3 separate regions of the Homo sapiens genome follow, and regions 2 and 3 are each linked to region 1. Evidence: promoter capture Hi-C in human tissues and cell types (Jung and others, 2019). All regions are on one chromosome and are shown on one strand. Each heading gives the region's core, a stretch centred on a gene start or on the middle of the fragment in contact. The rest is flanking DNA. Distances are from core to core; before and after follow the strand shown.

Region 1 (4,440 bases), core at 1,585-4,084:
GAGATAACCATGAGGATGAATGCTTTATGTGAAAAATGGTGTTGGAGAAAGGTAGAAGGTAGCTGGGGACTGACACCACCGCAGAGCTGCTGCCCCAACCTAGATAGCCTACCTCCAGATTTCTACTAGGTGACAAAGCCAACCCTTACTTGACTATGGTTAGGTTACTGTGATGACATATAGTCATCTGAAATTCTAACAGATACAGCTGTCTACCAGGAACATAAATTTAACGTCTTTAGATGAATCCAAAGTTTTTAAGGTTTTAATGTTAAAAAGTCCAACTCTCATGTCTGATAGAACAGGAATGCACAACCCTCCAAACCACATCACCCACTACAGAGTGGTAAGTACAGGTCATTAAATGAAAGCAGCACAGAAAAGTGGCTTCAGAGAGGGAATCATTTAATGCCCCTTACCTTCATTAGCCCCATTCCCCAAGTCTTACCACATAAACGTAAATTCCAGGTAAAACTGTGCTTACCAGGTAAACACACTTCCAGACAAGTTCCTTGTTGCCCTAGATTGCCATCCCTAAACTTCTCCTACATGGCAATTCTGCCACAGCATAATTTTCAGGGCAGCTCCACCCACAGTTAAAGTTATGATTTAGGGTTCATTACTACACATACCTTGAAACTTTTAAGCAGACACATTAAAGTAATGCAGCTCAAGGAATGTTAACAACTTTTTCCACTTTTGCCCCAGCCAGTTTCTACTCTAATCCAAAACGGCTTCTTTATCACCACCCACTTTACTCAAATTACGCTTACAGAATTCATTATCCTCCCGGGTAGAATCACCGAAAATAATGTGAGCATTTATATAGAAAGTGTAGTTCAGATAAAGCAATATATTAATAGGCCAAATTAGAAAAGGATAGCACGCTGCTAGTTTTCTGTATGCACTCTTGCCCGTGTGAAATTAAACTTTTTTGCATCCATGCGGGGAGCGGTGGCTCAGGCCTGTAATCTCAGCGCTTCCTAAGGCCGAGGCGGGCGGATCACTTAGGGTCAGGAATTCGAGACCAGCCTGGCCAAATTGTGAAGCCCCTTCTCTACTAAAAATACGAAAATTAGCCGGGAGTGGTAGTGGGCACCTGTAATCCCAGCTACTCGGGAAGCTGAGGCAGGAGAATCTCTTGAACCAGGAGGCGGAGGTTGCAGTGAGCCAAGACCACGCCACTGTACTCCAGCCTGGGTGATAGAGCGAGATTCTGTCTAAAAAAAAAAAAAATTGTATCCAAAGTTGGAGTTTGCCTTTATTATTGCAAATGAGATAATAACCTTTCAAGTAGGAAAACAACAAAAAGGAAAACTATATAATGAAATTTCTTTTACTCCCAGAACCAAAATAACGAGACTTCCAGATAGAAATTTGCATGGAGTCAATCAGAATTACATATTATTTTCATTTCCGAACAGAATTACTCCATCAAGTTTTCTGATATCTTCCTAATGTTTCTCAGTAAAACTTTAGCAAAGTAATAAAAATTCACCTAAGAATGATCAAAATTGCGTTGAGTCCCAAATAAATAATTTTTTTTATTTTAAGGGAAAAATTCCGCACTTTGCTTTCTTTTTTTTTTTTTTAGGTAGGCAGGGACAATCAGGAAGCAGCCCCGGATTTTCAGAAACGATCTTTAGCATCACCAAGACATAGACTAAAGAAACATGTAATGCACAACTTAGGCTGCTCCTTCATCCAAGGCAATTCAAATTTCCACGGATACCAAGTCTTCAATGGCCGGTGTCAACCATTCAATAGAAGCATACCAGAAAATGTTGCGATTGCCTTCTTCACCACAAGAGTCTAAGTGACACAAATTTGGGCAGAAGTAATTATTTGGCCAAGCCGGGAGGCAGGAAGCTTAAATACCGCCTCTGTAGGAAGTGCGGGGGATCCGAAGCAAACACCCCAAAGTTTGTTTGTGAGTGGAGGCGCGGAGGCGCCCGGAGCCACGCCGAAGCTCACCTGGTCAGCGCACAGAGCCGGGTAGGAGTCGGGTCTAGCCCTAGTTTGCTCCTGAGCGCTTCGTTCCTCTCAGGCTACTGCGTTTAAATCAATACTGGGTGGCAAACGATACCCATTCTTTGGGCTCTGAAGTTTGGAATTCATGGGTTCTGCGGCACAAGAAAGTTTCTTCACAGGTTATTTCCCTGTCCGAGGCTGTCGCTTAGCTCATCTCCTCCCGGTGCGGCCCTGGGGTGTCCACCAAGCCGCCGGGCAGATCGCTGCCCCGTGCTGCGGCATCTTGATGCCCAGGACCCCGAGGCTGTGGGGCAGCCCCTCCTACCTGGGACAAGCGGCCAGAACTCCTTTTCCCACAGGGAAGAACACTCCAAGCCCCCGGAAGAGTGCGCATCCTAAGGAGATGTCTCCCAACGCCTAGACAAAGACAGCGCTGGGAAAAGTTGGACCAACTGGCACCCCCGCAAGGCGAACAGAGCAGTCCCCTCGGCCTTCGTGGCCGAGCCGGCTACGCGCTCTCGGAGTCGCGGCCAACTTTTCCCGCGAGCTTCTGAGCAACTTGCCGCAAGTTGGGGCGAGGGGGCAGAGCAGGGGTCAAGGGCGCGCGGAGGGACTGATCTCGCTCCTGTCGGTTTCCTCGTACCTCCCCGCGTACCTGCTGATGTATCCGTCCCCGTCGCCGTCGCACGTCTGGAAGAGGCGCCGCATCCTCTCCTCCTCGCCGGTGCTGGACGTGTCGCTGCTGCTGCTGCTGCTGCCGCTGCCGCCGCCGCCGCCGCCGCTGCTGGAGCTCCCCGCAGCCGCTGCCGCCGCGGCCGCCATCATGCGCCCGCTCCCTACTTGGGAGGAGGAGTACGCGCGACCGCAGCTGGAATCCGCGCGGCGCGCAAGCTGCCTGCAGCCCCGAACTTGCCTGACAACGGAGCATGCCCAGTGGCCGCCGGGGCGCTCCGGGCGAGGGATTCCACCTCTCCGGGTTTTGCCCGGACTGGGAAGATGGGCGCTCTGGAATCGCCCGAGGAGGCACCTCAGGGAAGAGGGAGGAGGGGAAGGTGGCTGGAAGAGTCAGGGAGCTAAGGGTGGCAACGGGAACACAAGAGGAGGCAGAATACACTGGAAGCCCCCGGGAAGGGTGTCAGCATTGTGCATCCGGCAACGACGCGGGCCCGGGACACTTGGGGACGCTTCAGGCAGAGGGCAGGTGTACTCCCGGCAGACCTTCTCCGACCGCCCGGAGTCATGGCTTCCTTTTCCAGAGAAGCTATATAAACACTCTCCTTCTGCAAACTCAAAACGGTGCTTGTAATCCCACTCTCCAGGATTGTTCCGGGTTCTGTACCCATAGCCACCAATGAGAACCGGAATGACTGGCCTTTTTATGAAATTTTGACACCTGTCAAGAAACCTGGCCCTCGCAGCCCTCATCTTGGCTCCCACTCTGTACTGGGAAGAGTCTGCACGCTGTGTGGCATTGTGTACGTTGGGTCAATTTCTGGAAACGGCTCACTCTACTGGCCAGGCATCACTAGAATTTCCCCCAACAGCTTTAATAATGCCAAGAGCGAACATAATAGATGGTCTCATTTGATCCACACTACAGACCTGGAAGATGCCTCTTTTATTATCAATCCTACGACTTAGGAAGTATTAATAGATAAGTACCTCATAGAGTTATCTTACATATAAAAGGAGAGCAGACATAATGCAGTTAGGACAATGTCTGACACCTAGTAAGTGCTCAACAACTGTTAGCTCTCATTGTTCCCAATTTACAGGTAAGAAAACTGAGGTACCAAGACCTGCTCAAGGTTCCAGGTTTAGTAAGTGTTAGGGCAGAGGCAAGCCCGGGCAGCCTAACTCCAGAGCAGGAGCCTTTAAACACTGCACTATTCCCCCATAGCCAAAGGGAAACCACAGTGAAGCAATTTGTGGTTTCGTGAATGACTCATTATTCTGTCCTGGATTTTCTGCCAGAGAGGCGTGTGAAGTTCTCTGGTGGTTTTAAAATATGTCCACAGATTCTTTGGTGCACCCCTCATCAAGAGGTGGAGTCTGTTGCTTCCCCTAAACCTGGATTGGACTTGTGACTGCCTTGACTTCTGAGACTAGGTTAGAAAAGGCAATGCAGATTGCACTTGGCTCTCTCCCTTGGGACACTTACCTTTGAAGCCTTGAGCTGCCTGAAAAGAAGTTTGGCTACCCTGAAGCTGGAGAAACCATGCAGAAAGACCATGTAAAGAAAAAAGGAGATGACCAAAGAGCTACAGCTGTTCTAGCCCTGGATCTTAGAATCTTCCCAGACTAGGTGCCAGACATGAGTGAGAGATGATGCTAGCTCTAGATGCTGCAACTGCATTGGAGACCCTGAGCAAAACTGGCTAACCAACCCCCAGAGCTGTGAAGATAATAATTAAAAATTGTTGTTTTAAGCCATTAAGTTTTGAGGTGATTTGTTATGCAGCAATATAT
Region 2 (4,272 bases), core at 823-3,322, 190 kb before region 1:
GAGTGAGACTCTGTCTCCAAAAAATAAATAAATAAAAATTTAAAAAATTAGTGCAGAAAGTAAAAATAACTACCATTCAACCTGCAGGATAACTAACATTGATTGGAAAGAGGTACAACTAAATCATGGTACCTAAAACTGGCTCGAAAGCAAGCAAAAAATGAATGAGCAGACACCGATGAGAAGAAAAGAACATCTGGTAAAGGATATAGCTGAGGAAGGAACTTATTTCCTTAGGAACAATATTATGTCATATACTGCTCAAATAGTTTTCCAGCCAATGCAGGGACTACAAAGCACTCTCAACTCTTTCATTTGCCTACAAGCTTTATAGGGATTACTTAGGGAGTGGATACAACTAGGCAAAAAAAATGGGTAATTTTATGTGGCACCTGAGTGTCACATTCTCTGCTCACCCAATGTGCTCAAGGACGTGCCAATAGGACTAAAGTCAATTCACATCTCTTCCTTCACTCAGGGTTCTAGCCCCCCCTTCTCCTAAGTCTGCGATTCATTTAAACAAAGGTTACTGGACAGCACTCTGCTGCATAGAAACATCGTGAAGGGCCTGGCAAAGAGTCTCTGCAAAAGAAATGCCTTCAGTTTTGGGGTTTTCAATGACCTTAGAAGATCACCAAAGGCTTCTCCTGAAACAGGGTTAGTGATGGAGCAGGGCCCTGGGTTCTAGTTCAGATTTGAGACCGTTAATTATAAAATTGGCAAAAGTCACTTAAATCCTCATGCCTCCTCCCTCACCTCCCATTTTTAAGTTCTCACTCTCAGCATTTCTTGAGTCTTCTACATCACAGGGGCAACAGCCGTTAAGGATTAGCAAATGCTCTACTTCATTCAGCCAGCACCTCAAAATGCTATTTCAAACCGGAGCAGGAACAGCACAGCAGCAGCATGACACTTAAGAGCACCAGGCAGGGCCCAATAGCATTCACCAGCCCGACGGCAGACCTCCTAGGTTTCCCCCAACCCCATTTAATCCCCCCTCTTTCCCATCACCAGGTGTTCCCTCACACACACACACCCCCGCAGGGGCTCCATCCCTGCATTTTTCCCTTCACCATTGGTAGTCTGACATCACCATTATCTGCCTTCCGGCTGCTTTTACACTGTTTTCCTTTTCTTCCTCTTTCCTCTCTTCAGCCATACTCAAGAAACACGGACTACTTATGCTACTTTTGCCCCCATAAATGGCTCAGTGATGGAACCAAGAGGGAAACCCACAGACACCAAGCCTCTAGCTGTAGACACTAAGCACACAGACTTCCTCTTCTTTTCAGCACCCAGTTCTACGGGCTTCTCATCACTTTTCAGGTATTCAAAGCTTTGAGGGATGTGCCCGAAGCATCCCTAAAATCATGAAAAAAGATGGCTTTGGGCATCTTACCGCTCACACATTTGCATAGTGTTTGATGTAGCTTTAATTTCAAAGCTGGTCTCAAACACTCAAGTGGATAGGTTACAGTGGGAGCCCAGGAATTGCAAATGCGCTTGCCTCAAAGACTCAGGAGTCCAGATCCGGGCAGGAAATAAAGTTCTAAAGCGGCTTTGAAGTGCTTTCTCCCCAGACCCCTCCCCAGCGCGGGTCATTCATCTCAGCCTAGGGAAGAGACCACCTTGCCTGAACGTAGCCAAACGCATCGCACGTGGGAGCCAAGTGGGAGATGAAATAATCCAATGCGTCCCCCTCACCACCACCACCCCCACCAAATTAGTTACCGTCGGCTTAAACTCATCGGGAATGTCCGTGTATTTTACCGATCAGGGAAATAAAAGGGTGTATATAAATTAGTGGAAGCGGGTGGGAAGGAACAAGGGATGCAGACTGTCGTGAGTAAAACGCCTCGCGGCTTGGTGAGAGGTTGTTTCTTTTTTAAGCCACTCATTTCAGACTGAAATATCAAGCCAGTTCAGGTCATTTCCTGAGTAGCACTACAAGTTAAAACAAGATCCAGAAAATCTACTAATCTTCAATTGCGCTGCCTCCAGACTGGGAGCACAGGGGGATAGGGTGTAGGGCTGTGGGGAGGTCGAGGGGAGGGGGATTTGTGGAAAAGCAAACGCCCGAGAAACCCTAGCTCCCGACCTCAGCTGTTTCTTACCTCACTCAGCTCGGCCGAGGAGTCGTTTCCATATTTCATGGCAACTCCGGAATTCATGATGCACTTTTCAGAGCTGGGCTCTCAGTCCCCCAGGTCTCGGAGCTTAAGAGTTGGACTTCACAGGCTCAATATCCACTGCTTGGTCCCTTCTGCCACATTTTAGTCTAGACAGCCATTTTCACCCAGGACAGTTGCGAAGCGCAAACGGAGGATGCAGGCACTCTTAAAAAGAGCAGCCGTGGCTCGCGTTTCACGGACGAGCCATTGCTGCAGGAGGCTCGGTGGCGCGGCGCGCTCGCAGCTGCGGCAGCGGCGGAGCCCGCGCGGGGACCCTCCCGCGCGCACCCAGCGCCCCGTTCCGGGGCAGTGCCACCCTGGGCGCCGCCTCGCCACTCCTACGGTGCCTCGCCGCCCCCCATTACCAGGATGGAGGGCACTTCCCAGCACGAGCCGACACCCTAGAGGGCACCGGCGAGCTCCCGAAAAAACTAGGGCGGTGGGGCGAGGAAGATCCGCGCCTCGGATTCCAGAGAAGGAAAGAAAGCTAGAGGGAGCCGGAGCGGAGCTGCACTTCACGCCGAAGTTTCCCCTTCGAATCGTCTGGAGTTGTAAGTGGTTTCTGATTGAACACAGCTGTCTAGCTGCTGGCCACGGGGTGCGCGGAGGAGGCGGGGCTAGAGGGAGAAAAGGGTGGGGGCGAGTAGCCTGGAGGCCGAGCAGAGGAGACCGTGCTGGGAGAGCAGAGCAGGCATCCTTCCAGTTCTCTGCAATAGTAATTAAGGACCCGAGTCCAGGAGGGGGAGTAGAAACAGGAAAAGCCACCTGAATAATCGTGCAGGAAATTAAAAAAAAAAAAAGAAAAGAAAAAGAAAAAAAACTTCCCTCATAGGAGCCGCTTTCCATGATTTAATAAGGTCAAGACAAACCTAAACACTGTACATCAGACAGCACGGTGCACTTCTCACGGAACATTAAGATTTTACAAGGGTGCAGGGCAGTCATTTTCCCTAATCAGTCTAAAGTCAACGCTACGGGTGTAAATTCAATGTCAAACTCCCTCTGTCTGTCACTGGGGCAGAGTACATTTTCTGCATGTCCATAATGAAGATAGAGGCCCCATCCCTTGAAAGATGTCGATAGGCTCCCCAACCCCCATCCCTTGAAAGATGTCAGATAGGCTCCTCAACCCCCATCCCTTGAAAGATGTCAGATAGGCTCCCCAACCCCCAGACCTTCCTTAATTGAGCGGAGGTAGAGTTGTATTTATGGAGTGTGGAGTATGATTCAGAAAAGATTCAAGGGGCTGTTATACCCAGTACACCCCTGGGATCTGAGCTCCCCTTCAACTTTGAGTTCCCGAGGTAAAACATCCTGTGTCTATTGGGAGAGAGATGAGATGGGGGAAGAGGGGAACTAGGATTTTTCTCTCCACAAACTTAAAGTTCCAATGAATTTGAGATGCACAGAAAAATGTTCTGATGCTTCAAAACAGTAGGTCTGCGAGATTGCTTAAGAGACCTCATCAGTCTCTTTCTACACAATGGGGACAAAATGTCTCCATCCCCAATAACAGAACTTGGCATATCCTGAAGCCTTCTGTGAAAAAGCCATTGTATTGTCAACTTCCATGGTCTTTTTAAAAAATCATGTTTATTTTGCTCTTTAAGAAGGGGCAGAGTGCAACTATTTGCATATAACGTTTTACCCATCCCCCTTCTTGTTGAGTTCATTCATTGCCTGATGGAGGTGCTGCTGGGATTAGGAAGAGTTTGCTGCTCTTTCTAGAGCACTGGGTCCCAAGTCCTTGGGCACTGCCAAACTAGAGCACATTCTGCATGGGGAGGAGATGGGAAGCTACATTATTTAATTTATCTTTTCATTGAAATCTGTTGAAAACTGCATGTTTGAAGCTGGAAATGGTGGTATATACATAACTATGAAGAAGATTCAAGCACTGCCCCTGCCCTGAAGGTGTTTATAGACTTGTAAAACATGAACAGAAATGACAATTCTAGATAGAAAATGATACTTGCCATAAACACAGTACAAATGAGGAGCGACTGCAGTTCAGAGGAGGGAAATACGATTTTGGCTGGACAGGGTCTGGAGAGAAGATTCTGTGAAGGAATCTTAGAAGAGGCAGCATGTGAGTTGACCT
Region 3 (3,994 bases), core at 814-3,313, 250 kb before region 1:
CCTCCAGGAAACAAATCATTTTGAGGGGGTATTCTTTCATTTCAATGTTATGCCCAGTTCTGCAGCTTCAACTCTGCAGAACACAAAGAACTGGAGTCTGAACATATATCTATTCTGCCTCCTTGACCTGATTTTGGTAGCCGTTAAAATTCGGTCAGAGTCTGCTAAAGTTTTAGAGAGTTCAGAAGATTGAGGCAGCTTTGGTGATGTTCCCGCTACCATTTCCTTGGTCTTCTAACCTAGGTAGGTCGGATTTCCTCATGTTCAGGTTGGGCCCCTTGGGTGCCTTTGAAGAGTAAATTCTATGACAGGTAAAAATGCTGGCTGCAAGATCCTCTTTTAAAGGCTCTCTGATCTGCAGAATGAGTCACACTCCCATGACAATATGAGATGGCAGCTGAGAGAGGTGAGGTATGCTTGAGCCTAGGTTTGAAATAATATTGCTGCATTTGCAGCATAAACCAATATGCCTGAGCCTAGGTTTGAAATAATATTGCTGCATTTGCTGCATAAACCAAGAAGGACACCAATAATCTGGAATGCAAATTTCAATAAATTCTAGAAATGCTGGTGGCAGAAAAGCTTTCCGGGACCAGAGAAAGGCAGTATCGAGGATAAGAGCATGGGCTCTTGGAACCACACTCCCATGACTAAATCTCAGTTGTATTACTTACTAGCTATTTGACTTTGGACATGTTACTTAAATTTTTTCTGTGTCTCCACTTCCTCATCTGAAAAATGGGGATAATTATGTCTAGGGTTGTTGAGGTAGTTGAAGATTCATTAGATTATGAATTATAAAATACTTACAATGAGTCCAGGCATATAATTGAGTGCCATTATAATGTTTATCTTCACTGTTAGCGTTGCCAACGATTAATATTACAATTTCCAAGTGAGTCACTCTGAGGTACAATAAATGATTAAGCTGAACACCTAGGTTAGGGCAGAGCAGATAAAAAGCCAGAAGAATACACAGAGAGGAGAACTAAGGCCCCTCCCTCCCTCCTCAAACTGATCGGATGTTTGTTCAGGGGGACGGGGGACAGGCGGGGTGGCTACACTTGGTGGGTGGCTTCGCTGGGAGGCTGGACCAGGAGAGCATTCCCACTCTTTTCTTCCTCGACTGAATTTATCATGAAGTCTTAAAAACATAAAGCTGCAATGAATATACTGAAAGAAATTAGACTCTGAATGTCAGTTGTTTTCACTCTGTCAAGTTGAAAAAATTGAGAAGGAAAGTGGCAACGGGGCTCCTGATCCACTGGAAGTCCTTGGGGAATTCATTAAATACTTGCTAATTGACTGAACTTGCCTGTTCAAAGGAAACTTGGAAATGTATACGCCTTCAGGGAATAAATCATGGCGTATACAATCCACTAAGTATCTTGCTTCTCAGGAGTAACCACAGAATATGGTTTATATGTAAGTTAAATATTTAATTGGTATAAATATACTACTGAGATCACTGAGGCAAAAATGTGAACATTTTACTTCTACTTTTTAATGACTACATTTTGGGCCATTATGCTTAAAGCTAATACCACAAAAATTTCTGAATTTTGTAGCACAAAAATATTTTAATATGACTTGGTTATTTTCATTGATATGCGGAAATAAATGTGTTCCATGAAAAGCAAATACCAACTGCTTCCACTACCCATTTAATGTTCAAAAATATTTTTATGGAAAAACCTAAAAACAAAATGGCAAGCCAGGAGAATTGGTGCCTCTGGGATTAGAAGGTCAGAAAATTACCTAATCTTATTTCTGCCAAGAAGGGTTACTTGCATTAAAATGACAGCAGTCACCAAGGCACTGGGAGGAAACACGGGCCAGGGGAAAACGGGCCGGCTGTATTTTAGAGAAATCACAAGCACACACATGGGCTACAAGAGAAATTATATTTGAAAAATAAAATGGAACTTCCTCATTGATTAGTCTCAGCTCCGCGATAATTTCTGACTGATTCAGAAACTTGCAAGGCTCTCATAGAACCCAGACAAGAGCTTTGATGTTGGCTGGATGCGACACACTGCCGGTGATTTAATTTTGTCTAAGGCAAGAACACTGAAAAACAATCAGAGTCATCTCATGCCTGAAGTATCAGAGTTGTATTATTTTCCAGTGACAGCAGAAAAATAATTTCCATGAATGAGTATGGTTTGGGGAGCTGGGGAGGGAAAAAACTGAAGTAGGGAAACAGAGGTGGAGGAAGCATGCTTTGTGGATTTTCTCTCCTTTACCAAAGAGAGCTCAAAAATTTCTGGCTGCAAGACTGATATCAGACAGACATCAAGAATGCAGCTATATCTGGCTTCCCTCATGGCATAAGTAGCACTCACAGCAAAATGCATGCAACCAGTCACTTAAACTCAGATGCAAAAATTACCAGGCTTTGGGGGTAGAGGCACCACTGTTGAAATAGACATTAAATCAAACTGATGAGCTTCTGGCACTTTTCAGAAAGGCAGTAATATTTGGAAACATTTTTTCCTGTTTTTTTTAATCAAAGCAATTATTTCACTAAAAACTGAGAAATGAAGGGAAAATGCCACCTAAAAAAATCACTATCCACAACTAATGGTAGAATTTTGTATATTTCATTCCAGTCTTTTCTCCTATTTCCTATTTGGCAATTATACATGACAGATGACCCATAAGAAAGCAAGTCCTGCATTTCACTCTCTCTCCTAAAAAGACTCTTCAATAAAGCTTTTAAAACAAACTAACAAAAAAATCCTGGTGCTTTACGACAGACCCAATTTTGCTTACAGATTTTCCCCAAATTTAAGATTTTGTTATTGGTTGTATACAATTCAAAAATGAAGGCTGTTAATGCTGAGTTCATAGTATAAACAAAGAGACCAGAGATTAGAAAAAAATGTCAGCACATTTGATTAGTTTCATCCTCCCACATGCCAATGGGTATGGGATGTGGAAAGACTGCAATTCCATTCTTACCATGGTTTGCCTCGACTATCAAGGTGATCCAATATGGCAAGAGAAAAAGACTAATGGTCTCAAATTTTTAACAAAATGGCATTTCCAATTTTTGTAAAATGGTTGTTTAGAACTTAAAACATATTTTCCAAAGAAGCAGTTACAAGAAGAGGTACATATTTCCAACTTACTCTGCAACATCTATTTAATTCCTGGGTTTAAACAGAGGTAACAAAGGTTTTAAAAGATGAGGTAACTATGACAATTCATCGAAATGTGAAGAGAATATTCATGCATATGTTTTTTTTCAATCTTATCCTTTAACGTCTAGTTTATTTCTGCTTTTTAGGATATATAACATTAATACAGTACTAAAGGTATTTAATTTGTAAATATACATAAATTGGACATACAAGCTGTTAAAGCTCTAACTTTATTTAAACAGAGAAGTTTGGACACCATTAGTTGAAACAATAACATCAGCATTACTTTCATTTGCTGCCATACTGATGACAAGATCTCTTTAGAAAAACATGTTCCATGTTTCAGTGGGGACGGCCCCAGGAATAAATCTGCCATGGAAACATCCAGTATACTGTGGGTCTCTTTCGGAGATAAATTGGGTAATAGGAGTTTGGAATCCCAAAAGGGCAGCTCTGAGAGGAAGCAGGGTACTCCCTTTCTCCAGGGGGTCCTCGCATGCAGCAGAGTTCTCAAACACCTTTAGTTTAGGCCCCTCTTAACCTGGTAAGTGGAGCAGACCTTGTCCTCATACATTTTTAAAGGGTTTCAGTCACACACTTGCTGAAATCCATTTGTGGATTTCTGGGACCATGATGCCAGAGAAGAGGATGTGGGCTCAGCCATAACTAAGAAGGAACTCCGTAGTAATGTCCAGATGGGGAAGAGGACTCGAGTTCTGAGACTTCAAAGTGCTGCCCATTTGTGGCAAACACTTCATTGAGAAATGGCTTCTGTGGATGCAGTCTAAGCCTGGGGTGCTTATTTTAGGCAACTATGGTATATACACTCACTTTTATATACACATTTC

What was found. Contacts are between HindIII fragments. The study calls those that stand out against the background at their distance.
Region 2: a fragment that was not itself captured here is called in contact with the fragment with the promoter of MCC in region 1 in 1 of the 25 tissues and cell types used here (hippocampus).
Region 3: a contact is called between a fragment that was not itself captured here and the fragment with the promoter of MCC in region 1, in 2 of the 25 tissues and cell types used here (IMR-90 fibroblasts and aorta).

Annotation. Positions count from the first base shown.
Region 1 is chr5:113,485,619-113,490,058 of GRCh38, forward strand. It overlaps MCC (MCC regulator of Wnt signaling pathway), which reads right to left and starts at 2,835. Exons shown (of 19, transcript NM_001085377.2): 1 at 2,627-2,835. The coding sequence starts at 2,796. RefSeq lists an enhancer at 2,734-3,028. The HindIII fragment of the contact is 5,374 bases long and covers 519-4,440 here.
Region 2 is chr5:113,292,215-113,296,486 of GRCh38, forward strand. The region is part of intron 3 of MCC (MCC regulator of Wnt signaling pathway); the gene reads right to left. It overlaps LOC124901045 (a long non-coding RNA gene), which reads left to right and starts at 2,646. Exons shown (of 3, transcript XR_007058904.1): 1 at 2,646-2,722. RefSeq lists a silencer at 2,423-2,482. The HindIII fragment of the contact is 4,704 bases long and covers 1-4,272 here.
Region 3 is chr5:113,235,777-113,239,770 of GRCh38, forward strand. The region is part of intron 3 of MCC (MCC regulator of Wnt signaling pathway); the gene reads right to left. Among named protein-coding and RNA genes, the nearest start is that of TSSK1B, 200 kb to the right of the region's middle. RefSeq lists an enhancer at 1-593. The HindIII fragment of the contact is 6,149 bases long and covers 1-3,994 here.